5 separate regions of the Homo sapiens genome follow, and all the other regions are linked to region 1. Evidence: promoter capture Hi-C in 16 types of primary human blood cells and fetal thymus (Javierre and others, 2016). All regions are on one chromosome and are shown on one strand. The core of a region is centred on a gene start or on the middle of the fragment in contact, and the rest is flanking DNA. Distances in the headings are between cores, read along the strand shown.

What was found. The method cuts DNA at HindIII sites, captures the fragments that hold promoters and counts their contacts. A CHiCAGO score of 5 or more calls a contact.
Region 2: the fragment with the promoter of NCOA5 here is called in contact with the fragment with the promoter of TP53RK in region 1 in 2 of 17 cell types (total B cells and monocytes); the score reaches 9.3 in total B cells.
Region 3: a fragment that was not itself captured here is called in contact with the fragment with the promoter of TP53RK in region 1 in 1 of 17 cell types (activated CD4 T cells); the score reaches 5.0 in activated CD4 T cells.
Region 4: a fragment that was not itself captured here is called in contact with the fragment with the promoter of TP53RK in region 1 in 1 of 17 cell types (naive CD8 T cells); the score reaches 5.3 in naive CD8 T cells.
Region 5: a fragment that was not itself captured here is called in contact with the fragment with the promoter of TP53RK in region 1 in 1 of 17 cell types (monocytes); the score reaches 5.7 in monocytes.

What each region holds. Positions count from the first base shown.
Region 1 is chr20:46,688,164-46,690,863 of GRCh38, reverse strand. It overlaps TP53RK (TP53 regulating kinase), which reads left to right and starts at 1,420. Exons shown (of 2, transcript NM_033550.4): 1 at 1,420-1,732. The coding sequence starts at 1,450. TP53RK-DT (TP53RK divergent transcript) reads right to left here and starts at 1,565. Exons shown (of 1, transcript NR_186399.1): 1 at 575-1,565. RefSeq lists an enhancer at 972-1,561 and a silencer at 1,792-1,841. The HindIII fragment of the contact is 1,274 bases long and covers 667-1,940 here.
Region 2 is chr20:46,088,573-46,091,272 of GRCh38, reverse strand. NCOA5 (nuclear receptor coactivator 5) reads left to right here and starts at 1,311. Exons shown (of 8, transcript NM_020967.3): 1 at 1,311-1,456. RefSeq lists enhancers at 1,148-1,197, 1,211-2,024, 1,878-2,087, 2,025-2,700 and a silencer at 1,358-1,707. The HindIII fragment of the contact is 2,710 bases long and covers 22-2,700 here.
Region 3 is chr20:46,013,263-46,015,962 of GRCh38, reverse strand. It overlaps MMP9 (matrix metallopeptidase 9), which reads right to left. Exons shown (of 13, transcript NM_004994.3): 9 at 2,429-2,700; 10 at 2,167-2,306; 11 at 1,689-1,839; 12 at 1,489-1,592. It overlaps SLC12A5-AS1 (SLC12A5 and MMP9 antisense RNA 1), which reads left to right. Exons shown (of 3, transcript NR_147699.1): 3 at 1,175-2,461. Among named protein-coding and RNA genes, the nearest start is that of MMP9, 5.7 kb to the right of the region's middle. RefSeq lists a silencer at 1,523-1,742. The HindIII fragment of the contact is 1,515 bases long and covers 670-2,184 here.
Region 4 is chr20:45,883,218-45,885,917 of GRCh38, reverse strand. It overlaps ZSWIM1 (zinc finger SWIM-type containing 1), which reads right to left. Exons shown (of 2, transcript NM_080603.5): 2 at 652-2,700. The coding sequence ends at 1,868. Among named protein-coding and RNA genes, the nearest start is that of SPATA25, 3.1 kb to the left of the region's middle. The HindIII fragment of the contact is 4,284 bases long and covers 1-2,700 here.
Region 5 is chr20:46,110,980-46,113,679 of GRCh38, reverse strand. No RefSeq gene overlaps it. Among named protein-coding and RNA genes, the nearest start is that of CD40, 6.0 kb to the left of the region's middle. The HindIII fragment of the contact is 1,495 bases long and covers 689-2,183 here.

The sequences.
Region 1 (2,700 bases), core at 171-2,670:
CAAAATTTCAGTTAGATAGGAGGAAACATTCATGAAATCTATTGCACGACATGGTGACTATAGATAATAACAATGGGTTGTATTCTTGAAAAATGCTAAGATAATAGATTTTAAGTGTCCTCACCCCCGAAATGATCAGTATGTTAGGTAACGTTAACTAGCTGGATTTAGCCATTCCACAATGTATACATATTTCAAAACATGTTACTTACGATAAACACGTACAATTTTTACTTTTCCTTATGTACGTCTTCATCTGGCTGTTCATTTTTATCTTTTATACTATCTTTTATAATAAACTGGCAATAGTAAGTAAAGTGTTTTCCTGAGAAACAACAAACTGGAAACAACTGTTTAGCAACAAGAAACTGCCTGACCAGGTAGAAGGACGTGGTAGCTCTGTATGTATTGATATGGAATATAGTCTGAGATAAATTGTTTAGGAAAATGAAAAGCAAGTTGCCAAAGAACCCACAGTATGATGTCATTTATGTTGGAAAAAACGCCACAACGATGTGTGAGTGTGCACACTGAATGAAAGAAAATTCTGGAAAGAAACTAACGGCCAGCAGTGTCACAAGGGGGATAGGTAGTTTATTTATTTATGTGTGCGTGTGCAAAGTTCCGTATTGTAAGAATTTGCTACAGCCTGTGTTATTATAAGCTTTGTAATGAAACAGGTAGAAACTGAAAAAGTTTAATTATTCCCAATTCAGTTTAGGTTCTGTCTCCGGAAGACTTTCCCGGATTCCCCAGCCCCCACTCCCCACCCCATCTTACCACCCCCTCTGCCAGCTCTGAGTCTCAATTTTCTTTTCTGTAAGGATTTTCATCATTTAACCTTATTTCTTCTGAATGCACTAAATGGTAGTTATCCTAGCACTTAAGAGGATGTCGGAAACATGGTTCATTGTCTGACCCTTCCGACTCTGACTTGTATGAGCACATTTTGGGGGGAATGTAGGAGTCAGGGGAAGAGGAGTTCCAAAAAGAGACTACTAGAGGGTACAGCTGTCCCGGAAGAGACTTCTGAAGAGAGCAAAGCGCGTCCGACGTTTTTCTCGAGAGGCGCCGAAGTTTTCCGGAAAGAGACGACCAACTGAGAGGTGGGCCCCCAAAGCCGGCTGCGAGAGTCACCGAAGATTTCCGGAGAGCCAAGGAGTCGGGAAGAGCCACTTACTGAGCGTTGCCGAACGTGTACGGAGATAGCCGAAGAGGCGGAAGGCGGGGCCACAAGAGCCCTTCCTGCAGGGAACCTCAGGCTTCAGAGAGCCGAAAAGTTGGGAGGCGTAACCACTTACAGGCCGGAAGTGTCCGGGGTGGACGCATTCGGGTAGCCGAAGAAGTCCCAGGATTGCCGAAGAAGTCCCAGGATTTCCGAAGCGAGCCGAAGCATCGCGACAGTTTTCAGAGACAGCTGATCGGTTGGAGCTGTTGCGCCGAGCAGTCATGGCGGCGGCCAGAGCTACTACGCCGGCCGATGGCGAGGAGCCCGCCCCGGAGGCTGAGGCTCTGGCCGCAGCCCGGGAGCGGAGCAGCCGCTTCTTGAGCGGCCTGGAGCTGGTGAAGCAGGGTGCCGAGGCGCGCGTGTTCCGTGGCCGCTTCCAGGGCCGCGCGGCGGTGATCAAGCACCGCTTCCCCAAGGGCTACCGGCACCCGGCGCTGGAGGCGCGGCTTGGCAGACGGCGGACGGTGCAGGAGGCCCGGGCGCTCCTCCGCTGTCGCCGCGCTGGTAAGGTGGGCCGGGATCCCGGCGTGGGCGGCCCCGAGGCTCTGGGGCCTGGGCGGGTGAGGGACTCCCCTGCGCTCCGAAGCTGGATTTCCCTCAGTTTCTCCTTCTGTGCCTTCTGCGGTGTCCGGCCTTTCGGAAATGTTATTCTTTCATCCCTTTTTTCATTCGTTAAGTCTTAAGAAACCACGTGGCCATGCAGCGTCAAGCTTTTGTCCTGAGGCCGTTCTGCCTGGTTCAAATCTGGGATCTGTCATTATTGCTCAATGTTGAACATGTTTAACTTCCCTGAGCCTTGGTTTCCCCATTTGACTCGTTTCAATTTTCGATCATTATCTTTCCATTTATTAGTTTTAAGAAACATGTAATGACAAGTACTTGCCCCACTGGAGCCAGGCTCCCTGGGTTGAAATACTAACTCTGCTGCTTGTGTAGCCTTTCAACAAGTTATTTAGCCTCTCAGCCTCGGTTTTCTCACCTGTAAAATGGGAGACATAGTAGCAGTATCCATGTCATAGGGATGTTGTGACCATTAGAGGAGGTATGTGTGTCACGTATTATGTTCAAATGTGTGCCTGGCACATAGTGCCCAATAAATGTTGGATTTCATTAAATTGCCTATTTTTTCATTAAACATCATTGTGCGCCAGCACCATAAACTTTGTCCTCAGATGAGAAAGTGACACTCAGAGAGAAGTAACTTGCCCAAGGTTACACGGTTACTAAGTGGCCGGTCCAGGCCCTCAGCTCCTTATGCCTCTGACTCAGAAGCCCTGGCTTTTTACTTTTACGCTTCTTGCCTTTCTTTTATCAGTATTTTTTAGGTACCAGTGGGTACCAGGACATTGTTAAGTGCTGGGAGATCTGGGTGGGGGATATTCAGTAGCCAACAAGCGGACACATTGCTGCCCTTTCAGAGACTTAAGATTTCATGAAGTTATTTGTGTATTCATATTTCTGTTTTCAGCCTC
Region 2 (2,700 bases), core at 62-2,561, 600 kb after region 1:
ACCAACATTTTTCCCTAAGCTTGGTTATCTTAATCATCTAATTAATATGATTCTTCTTAAATTTTCATAGTATTAGGATCTATATTGGAGGGAAAGGAATAAGAATGAACATTTGTTGGGTATCCATTATTTGACAGACTTTATGTCTTCATTTCTAATTTCATACAGTCTTATAAAGTGGGAATTGGAATAACCCACTTTGCCTGTGAGTAAACTAAAGTTCTAGTTACAACCATTGAGAATCCCTATTTCTTTCCATCACAGCGTTTATCTCAGTTTGCAATTACACACTCAAGTGTGATTATTCGTCTAATGCTTTCACCAGACTGTAATCTCAAAGATAGCAGAAAAGGGTCTGCATTTGCTCATAACAGCGCCTAACAAGCAGGCATATAATAAGTATAGGGCTACATAGTAGGTATGTAATAAACATTCAGTGAATAAATGAGTGGAGTGAGCATAGGGGTAGATGTCAAAGAAATCTGGCTTCTTGTAGTGTTTAAATTCCGCAGGCACCATTTTTTCTTAGTAGGCAATATTCGCAAGGAGAAGAACTAGACCCCATGGAGTCTGAGGCGTTTCCAACACTAATAAAAGAGTACCTGATTAATATAGCTATGGCTGTGATTAATAGAGTGCATTTACTATTGTGTGAGCAAATCCCATTCCCTGTGACAAATGTATTCTATACATGAAATGAACAGTACAACATTTTACAGGCTTCACGGTCAACAGTTACATTCCGGGAAATTTTTGACGTTGAACGAATATTCCAAGAATAAATAACTCAAGAAGAACCTGTGACTATATCTCCAGAAACCTTTTGCCGCTTGTCAGTGAAACTAATAGAGTACAGAGCCTATTTAAATGTAAATTTAAATACAACATTTTCTCCACCTTTCTGCTCTCTTTGTTCCTTGTGGTCCGGAGGTTACAGGACTATATATATTCTCCAATACACACGTGTATAGGGATTTGGGGTTTTTGCTTTCAGTTTTATGCAAGACTAAATCAAGGTATTTGGGGATTTGAATGTTCTGTTCCCACAGTTAGGGAGGAGGGAATGTGCTCTGAAAACAGAAAAAAAGTACTCTGGGGCGGGGGCTGAGGCGACCACCGTGGGGCCCATCCTCAGCCTAGGACGCTGTTGCTAGGCAACTCCCTGCGTTCTCAACTCCCGCCCGAGAGCCACTTCCCGGGCCCTCATTGCCAAGGAGATCGACGCCCCAACTCAGCCCTGCCGTAAACACGCGCGGTCTTGCGACAGTGCCGCGCCTGCCGCTACGTGCGCGCCCTCTGCCCCCATCTCCACTCTCCGCCCGGCCGCCATTGCCTCGTGCCCGCGCCGGTCGGTTGGTGGCGCCTTTGTCCTACGGCGGGCAGGTGGGCCGACGCGGAGGCGGCAGCGGCGGGCCTGAGGCGAAGGAGCGGCCGGGAGCCCGCCGCGCTGGTAGCGGTGAGTGCCGGGAAGCGCTGGCCGTCAGCCGAGGCGTGGGGCTGACGGGCAGGCCGTTGTGGGGGGCCTGGCCGGACGGGGAGGCTGAGGCGGGAAGGCCCACTCGACGCGCGGCCACGGTCTCGGCTCCTCTCCGGGTGCGCGCGGTGCTGCGCATGCCCGGTGCGGGGCGCGGCCGCCTCCGGCTCCCGTCAGGCCCAGGCCCGGCCGGCCGAGGCGGCCTACGGTTCTCTGTGGTGGACGCAGGTCGGCGGCGTCGCATCGCAGCCGCCTGTCTGTGCACGAACGGTCGGTCACTAGGAGTCCTCAAGGCTTCTCTGGTTGAGCCGCACATCCCGCACCCCCTGTCGAAACGGTGGAGTCGCTCGCCCGCGGGTCCTCAGCGAGTCAGTGGCGCAGTCGGGATTCGAACCGGGCCCAAGGCGTCCCGTGGCACCGGGCGTTCTCCAGGCGTGCAGCGCCGAGCGGTGTACTGAGCGCTGTCCCCCGCCACCGTCTCGCGGCCCCTGACCGCATTCTCGGGGTGTCTCCTTGTGGTGTGACACCCCACGCGTTTTGTAGGCGCGGACCTCGGGCCCAGAGAACGGGGAGAGGAACTGTTCCCGGGTTTACCACGTAGCTCAGCGCCAGCGTCCGATCCGGCCGGCTTTCCAAGCTCCCGGCGCGGGGCACTGTCCGCTCCCCGCCAGCGGGCGAGGGGCTTCTCTTAGGACGGCGTTGCACACGTTTCAGTCTCGCGTTGCACCTTTATGTCCGTGGACCATCTGTACTGCTATTTACCAAATGTTACATTTTTTAAAAAATTCAAACTGACTCTTTTTTTCTCCTTAAATATATTTAAGGCGGCAACTTCAATCACAAACCGGGTACTGGAAAGCCAGTTATTTTTCTAATGCTTATAAAAAAAATAAATATCTGTCTGTTGAAATAAACAGTGCGTCCTTGTTCCTCCTGAAATTATTCTGCGTTCCACACTTTGGGAAACGCTGCCCGAGGAGTAGCTGATTAATTGTGGTTCTTCTGGCTTGCACTCTGTGCACAGAATTTTTCCTGAGGCAAAGCAGATTCTATGAATGCCCTGGGCTCTTCAGGGATAATGTAACAGCTTTCTTGTAAACTGTTCTCTTTGTTGACTTAAAAGTGTTAGTCCCAGGGAACTGCAAGAACTGTGTTCACTCAGGTGCACCCGGTGTGCCTGAATTTTCTTACAGCGTTGTGATGTCGTAGCCCCCTGTTGGCTCATA
Region 3 (2,700 bases), core at 178-2,677, 670 kb after region 1:
TCAGAACAATTCATTCAACGCTCATTCATTGAACAAATCTGTTCATTCATCATTTACTGAGCATCTACTATGTGCTTTGTTCAAGATACTGGGGATAAGCAGAAAAAATGCAGGCATGATCTCAATTATCTTGGTGCTTACACTCTAGTGAGGCAAGAGACAATTAAGCAAACACATAAATAAATGAGATTGGTTTTGAAAATATAGAAAGCGGCTGGGTGCGGTGGCTCATGCCTGTAATCCCAGCACTTTGGGAGGCTGAGGCGGGTGGATCACGAGGTCAGGAGTTCAAGACCAGCCTGGCCAAGATGGTGAAACCCCGTCTCTACTAAAAAATACAAAAAATTAGCCAAGCGTGGTGGCAGGCACCTGTAATCCCAGCTACTTGGGAGGCTGAGGCAGGAGAATCGCTTGAACCCGGGAGGCGGAGGTTGCAGTGAGCTGAGATCGTGCCACTGCACTCCAGCCTGGGCGACAGAGCAAGACTCCATCTCAAAAAAAAAAAAAAAGAAAAAAGAAAAAAAAAGAAAATATAGAAAGCTATGGAGAAAATAAAAACAAGTAAATAGATAATAAGCATCAAAGAAGGCCTCATTGAAGCAATGGCCTTAGCACTGAAACCTGAAGGAAGACAGTGGGATGGCCCAGTGACAATCTGGAGGGGAAGCTTTCCAGACAGAGGGAACAACTGGCACAAAGGCTGTAAGCTAGGAATGACCTTGATCTGTTCAAAGAGCAGCCAGTGTGGGTGGAGCAGAGTAAATAACAGGAGGAGTGGGAAGAGATGAGAACACGGGGGTGGAGTGTCAGATCCTCTTAATTTCTTTGACCTTGGAATTCATCTGGGGTCACTCCCAAGACCATTGCCCTTCACTCCTACCCCCTCTCTAATCTCATGGAATTTGTTAAAGGTCCTGGACAGCCAGTATGGTTTGGGCTGGGGTGTTTATAAAGAAGATGGCAAAAAAAATGACAGACTCGAAAAAGATTTTGGTGGCAGGAAATCTTGTTCACCTTGTCAACTGTTTGGATGTGACTGGTAAGAAAGGGAAGTCAAGTGTAATTCCAGCTATAGTCCCCATATTACAGATGGGGAAACTGAGGCTCGAAGAGTAGAGAAGCAGTGACTTGCCCAAAGTCACAGAGCTGTGAATTGTCTTATCTCTCCCTGTAGCACAGTGCCTGGCACATTATCGGCACTTGATGACTGTTGTCTAATAACTGAGCTTCCATACAAACCACCTGCCGTCCTGTACTGAAGGAGAAAGAGCTTCCAGCCGGGGAGGCAGGAAATCTGGGTCCTGGTCTTGGTTGCATCCCTGACTTCCTAAATGACCTGGAGAAGGCCTCTGCCTCTGCTGGGATCTTGTCTGTGCTGGGGCATTTGTTTCCATTTCCAAGGGCTTTTTCTTCCTCGCTCAGAATTTGACCACTCACTAAGAGGAGCTTAGTGTGGTGTCTCACGAAGGGATCCTCCTCAGCCCTCACCTCGGTACTGGAAGACGTCGTGCGTGTCCAAAGGCACCCCGGGGAACATCCGGTCCACCTCGCTGGCGCTCCGGGGATCCACCATCTGCGCCTTCACGTCGAACCTGCGGGCAGGCGCGGAGGAGACAGGTGCTGAGCCGGCTAGCGGACGGACCGACGGCGCCCGGGCTCCCCCTGCCGGCGGCCGCGGCGGCGCTCACCTCCAGAGGCGCCGCCCGCTGAACAGCAGCATCTTCCCCCTGCCACTCCGGAGGGCCCCGGTCACCTGGGCCACGTCGGCTCCCAGGCCCAGCTTGTCCAGACGCCTCGGGCCCAGCACCGACGCGCCTGTGTACACCCACACCTGGCGCCCTGCAGGGGAGGAGGGTCACGTCGGTTTGGGGGCGCAGAGGGAGCACGTACTCCTAGAACGCGAGGAGGGAGATTCCGGCGAGGCCTTTCCTAGCCCGCGTGCCCGCAGTCCCTGCAACCCAGGGGCAGAGGCGCTGGGTAGAGCGACGCGAGGGCGTGGAGAGGAGGGGGCAGAAACTCAGCCGCCCCTACGTTTGCTAAACTGCGTCCGCCAGGGGGCGTATTTTTCTAAAACGCACAAGACGTTTCGTGGGTTATCGATGGTCTCTTGAGCCTCCTTGACTGATGGGGATTGACCGGGCGGGGGAGGGAAAGTAGGTAACTAACCAGAGAAGAAGAAAAGCTTCTTGGAGAGCCGCTCCTCAAAGACCGAGTCCAGCTTGCGGGGCAGCGCGGGCCACTTGTCGGCGATAAGGAAGGGGCCCTGCGGCCGGCTCCCCCTGCCCTCAGAGAATCGCCAGTACTTCCTGAGAAAGCGAGGAGGGAAAGGACGGGCTCTAAGCCTTGGACACAGGGCCAGTGGGCGGGAAGGGACGGGCAGCCCCTCCGCAAAGCCCCCTCCCGCATCCACACAACCCCGCCTCCTCACCCATCCTTGAACAAATACAGCTGGTTCCCAATCTCCGCGATGGCGTCGAAGATGTTCACGTTGCAGGCATCGTCCACCGGACTCAAAGGCACAGTAGTGGCCGTAGAAGGGCCAGCAGTGGGGGGACCTGTGGGGCCAGCTGAGGGGGGACCTGTGGGGCCAGCTGTGGGGCGCTCTGAGGGGTGGACAGTGGGGGGTCCGGTGGGGCAGACCGTCGGGGGAGCCGTGGGCTGCGGTGTGGTGGTGGTTGGAGGCCGTGGCTCAGGTTCAGG
Region 4 (2,700 bases), core at 159-2,658, 800 kb after region 1:
ACAGAGTCTTGCTCTGTCACCTAGGCTGGAGTGCAATGGCATGATCTTGGCTCACTGCAACCTCCGTCTCCCAGGTTCAAGTGATTCTCCTGCCTCAGCTTCCCGAATAGCTGGGATTACAGGTGCCTGCCACTACGCCCGGCTAATTTTTGTATTTTTAGTAGAGACACGGTTTCACCATGTTGGTCAGGCTGGTCTCAAACTCCCGACCTCAGGTGATCCGCCTGCCTCGGCCTCCCAAAGTGCTGGGATTACAGGTGTGAGCCACCATGCCTGGCCAGAATTTCTTATATTAAGTCCTAGGTATTTGAATTCTCCTCTTGCCTTAAATTTCCCAGCATGTTGAAGGCAGGTCATAGGACCATAGGCAAGGAAGGAAAATTAATACTTAATTGAGCACCCACTAGGTATGCCTGCTCTGTGAACATACCCTGTGGAGATCCCCATTTTTACAGATAATCAGGTTGAGGTTTAGAGGGGTAACTTATCCTAATAAGTCTCATAGCTAGTAAAAGGCAGAACCAGGCACAAAAATCAAGCAGGGAAGGAACCAACCAGGATTCACATGTTGTATAACACTCTAAAGTCTATTCTCTCCATGATATACCCTAAACTGCCTTCTATGGAACAAAAAAAAAACTAGACAAGTGCTAGAATATGCAACATTCAGTTTTATTGACCCCAGGATGGGACAAGGAAAAAAGTTCAGGGAGCCTGGCTGAGTCAGCTCCCCAGAGGGGCCTCTTCCCCTGTAGGAAGCCTCCCAGCCCAGCTCACTTAAAGGAGACGGGTTAAGTGAGTCATCTCATGACTGGGGCAACTGCTACCAAGCCCCAAACCTCAACCTCACCACCTGATGTTTTATCTCTTATCTTAGACCAGGGGTTGCCATTTATTTTATTTTTTTTAGATGGAGTCTCACCCTCCCAGGCTGGAGTGCAGTGGCAGCAGGATCTTGGCCTACTGCAACCTCTGCCTCCCAGGTTCAAGCGATTCTCCTGCCTCAGCCTCCCGAGTAGCTGGGATTACAGGGCCCCCGCCACCACACCTGGCTAATTTGTGTATTTTTAGTAGAGACAGGGTTTCACTATGTTGGCCAGGCTGGTCTTGAACTCCTGACCTCAAGTCATCTGTCCACCTCAGCCTCCCAAAATGCTGGGATTACAGGCGTGAGCCACCATGCCCAGCTGGATTGCCTGCTTTTTTAAAGACCTTTGAGCTAAGAAAGGTTTTTACCTTATGAAAATGTTAAAACAGGCCGGGTGCGATGGCTCACGCCTGTAATCCCAGCACTTTGGGAGGCCGAGGCGGGCAGATCACGAAGTCAGGAGATCGAGACCATCCTGGCTAACACGGTGAAACCCCGTCTCTACTAAAAATACAAAAAATTAGCCCGGCATTGTGGCGGGCGCCTGTAGTCCCAGATACTCGGGAGGCTGAGGCAGGAGAATGGTGTGAACCCAGGAGGTGGAGCTTGCAGTGAGCAGAGATTGCGCCACTGCACTCCAGCCTGGGTGACGGAGACAGACTCCTTCTCAAAAAAAAAAAAAAAAAAAAAAAGAAAAAAAATATTAAAACAAAACCAAGAATATACAACAGAGACTGTATGTGGCCACCTGAGTAAACTAAACAGATTAAGATTTGCTGACTCCTGTCTCATTGAGCTAGACACATGCTAGGTAGCAGGCCATGGTAGATGAGAAGACCCTTCAACCTTGTCCTTGTTGTCCTTGTTCTGGAAGGAGGGCCCACGGAAGTACAACAGTGTAAGGGAGTGTGTGTGTGTGTGTGTGTGTGTGTGTGTGTGTGTGTATGGGTGGATGTGAGTGTGCACAGGTGCATGAGCATCTCTGGGCATCGAGAATAATCAGAGTTGGACCTGCTCATAAGGCCCAATCCAGCTGTCGGCCAGTTCCCGCAGGGTGCTATACCTCCGCTCAAACTCCTCCTTGGTGCAGTGCTGCAACAGCTGACCCACCTCCTCGGTGAGGTGAGTCACTGCCAGGTGCTTATCCAGGGTCTCACTCCACTTGCTGCCCAGGATGCTGTCTAGACTGGTAGCACAGCCTGCCGTCCACTGAGCCGGCAGCATGTCGGGCTGGAGCACCTGGCGGCGGGCACTGAGCATGGCTAGGATGTGGCGGCAGGGCAGGTGGAAGGCCTGGTTAAAGTAGCAGCTGCAGCTGGCAGGGGGCTGGGGCTGCACCTTATGGGTATCTTCCAGGATCTGTATGTTCATCTTTTCTGAGCCAGAGCCAATGAGGTGTGTGGATTTCTGGACCACAGCAAGCTCGCCCAGGCACAGTTGGGCTGCTGGCCCTGTGCAGATGGCATTGAGGGAGTGCTGGATGTGGGATTCTACCAGCTGCTCCAGTTTGGGGCTTTCGGGGATGGTGTCTGAGGGAGCATGATTGTTCTGGGCACACAGGCCCTGGTTGAAGTTTGCCTTGTCTGCAGAGTTCTGCTGCATGTAACGGAACAGAGAAGCCATACCTTGTTTCTCAGATGGGGTGGTACCAAAGAACTGGCTGAGGATGTGGGTGGTGACCTCGAGGCTCTGGAAGTAGTGGCTGCTCTCAGCTCGGCTTCTCCAGCGGTGAGCCAGCCAGATGCGGTCGTTGAGCAGCCAGTGTGAGTGAAGCTCGGGCAGCTTGGCTGGAGGGATGCAGTTGCTCAGGAGTGTATACAACTTTCTCAGGT
Region 5 (2,700 bases), core at 187-2,686, 580 kb after region 1:
CTCTACCCTGCTCAGATAGGCACAGTCCACTGCCCACAGTCCACCACCCATCAGGGAACAGCATCCCAGCACCCCATGCTTGCAGTCACCTCTCAGTCTCCATGAGGGACTTCCTTTGAATTTCCACTACCCCACCCTTAACGGGGAGGGAGGAAATGGCCTTCTCCTATGAACACCTGACTACTCAGTAAAACCAAGGACCTCCTTCCTCCCCAAGATTGCTGTATGGGCAAGGAAGAGGAAATTGGAATTTTGGGCTGTGGGTGTAAAGCGAGTTCTGCCTCCTTTAGTAAACCTGGAGGGAAACTATCTGGCTCCCTAAAATACAGGGTACAGAGGACCTGTTGGCTTTGGCTGTGGGCCAGCCATGTGGCTGATTCCTAAGGAACAAGGAATTTGCACTCAATCGCCTTTGGATCAGGCCATCCCTCACTTCTAACTTGAATTGTGGAGAGGAGGAACAGTGCCTCCTTTATCTTCTTAACCTAACACCCACACAGAGTCTGAACACCTGCCAGATGCTGAACAGGTATTTGTTGAATAAACGCAGAACTATAGAGTAATGAGGCTGAAGGGATCCCTCAGACCCACCTGCCCATTCCCACACCGTCCTGGGTAGCAGCCCATCTCCATAAGATGACAGGGCTCTCTAGCTGGGATTCCCAGGCCTAACTATGGACAAAAAGCTTTCCCTTTAGCTCACCAGTATCACGTGGGAATTTATCAAAGGGAACTAAGAAACTCAGAAAAGAACCCAAGCAGAAATTTGGAAAACCCAAGAGCCGGCAAAACAGATGCGAGAACAAAGCAGAGAATGTCTTGATCCTTATCTGGTTAAAGCCACTTACTCGGCTGATCTGATCCCCGCACAATGAGGCCTGGAGCCTGGTCCTCAGCCCTCCCAGACTCTGATGTTTGGAAGAAGAGATGCTTTGGTTGCAGGGGAAAGGATCCAAGTTTTTACTGTGACCTCAAGAGGCTGCGTGACCTGGCCATTGGCAACCTTGGTTCCCACCGCAGAGCTTTGGCTATGCTGCCCCCTCTGTCTAAAACGCCCCTCCTCCCACCTTTCATCTGCTGACTCTTCCTCACCATTCATGTCTCAGGGTAAGTGGCCCCTCCTCAGAGAGGCCTTCCCTGACCATCTTATCTAAAATGAGTTTCCTCTGCTACCCACCCACCTCCCCCGCCACTGTCCTCTCTTGTAGCACCTGTTCTAATCAGAGTTGTCCTTGCAAACAAGAGAAGATGTAGCAGTGAACTTAAATAAAAGAGGACACTATTGAAAGGGTGTTGGGCAGCCCAGAGAGCCGACAGGAAGGCTCAAGGGAGGCACCCAGGCAAAACCACAGGAGGCAGGGAATAGATGAGACTCTGCCACAGAAAAGTTCTATAAACCATCTCTGTGCCAGCCTACCTCCAAGACAGCCCTCAACAATCCCTACCTCCTGGTCTTCACACCCTTATGTAGTCCCCTTCCTTATTGTACCAGGGTTGGTCTGTGTGACCAACAGAAACCAGCAGAAGTGAGTGTAGGTCACATCAAGGTTAGGTTACAAACCCACTGAGGTCAGGTGCAGTGGCTCATGCCTGTAATTCCAACACTTTGGGAGGTCAAGAAAGGAAGGATCACTTAAAGCAAGGAGTTCTAGACCAGCTGAGCAACACAGCAATAATTCATCTCTACAAAAAAATTAAATAAAAATAAAAGGACTGAGGCTTCCATCTTATGTGTGCACTGTCTCACTCTTCTTTTTCTCTCTTCTCTCTCTTCTTTCTCTCTCCCTTCTCTGTCTCCTCTCTCTCTTCTCTCTCTCTTCTCTTTTCTCTTCTCTCTCTCCTTTCTCTGTCTTCTTTCTCTCTCTTCTCTCTCCTTTCTCTCTCTCCTTTCTCTTCTCTCTTTTCTTTCTCTCTTCTTTCTCTCTCTCCTTTCTCTCTTCTCTCTCTCCTTCTTCTTTCTCTCTCCTTTCTCTCTCTCTTCTCTTTCTCTCTCTTCTTTCTCTCTCCTTCTCTTCTCTCTCTCCTTTCTCTCTCTTCTCTCCTCTCTCTCTCTCTCTCTCCCCTCTCCCCCACCCCCTGCACTGTCTCCAGGCCCTCTGGGGAAGCAGCTGTCTGCCATGTCGTGAGGACACTCAGCACTCAGGCAGCCTATGGAGAAGTCCATATGGCAAGGATTCAAAGCTTCCAGCCCTCAGCCACATAGGAAGTGAAAGTGGAAGTGGAAGTGGAAGTGGACCCTCCCGCAGCAGTCAAGCCTCATATGACTTCAGCCCCAGCTGACACATTGATCCCAGTGGTGATCTAATCAGAACCACCCAGCTAAGTTGCTTCTGGATTCCTAACCCACAGAAACTGTGAGATAATAGATGTTTTCTTGTTTCAAGCCACTAAGTTTCAGGTCAACCTCTTACCCAGCAATAGATAATGAACACAATCTCTAACTACCCCTGAACTTGAGCATCACTCCTTCGAGGTTCAAAGTCTTGGGAAAGGAATCAGAGTGGCCACACTTGGCTTACAACGCACATTCTATGCCTCCTTGGCTTCCTTGTCAAGCCTCCTGCCCTCCTTCCCCTCAAGTAAGAAGGGTACACATCCTGAACATCCAGAACAATCCATCTGCCCTGCAATGTTCCCTCAGAACACTCGGCACAACTTGTTGTTCTCTATGCAGGATGACATTTTTCTCCTTTCCCCTTG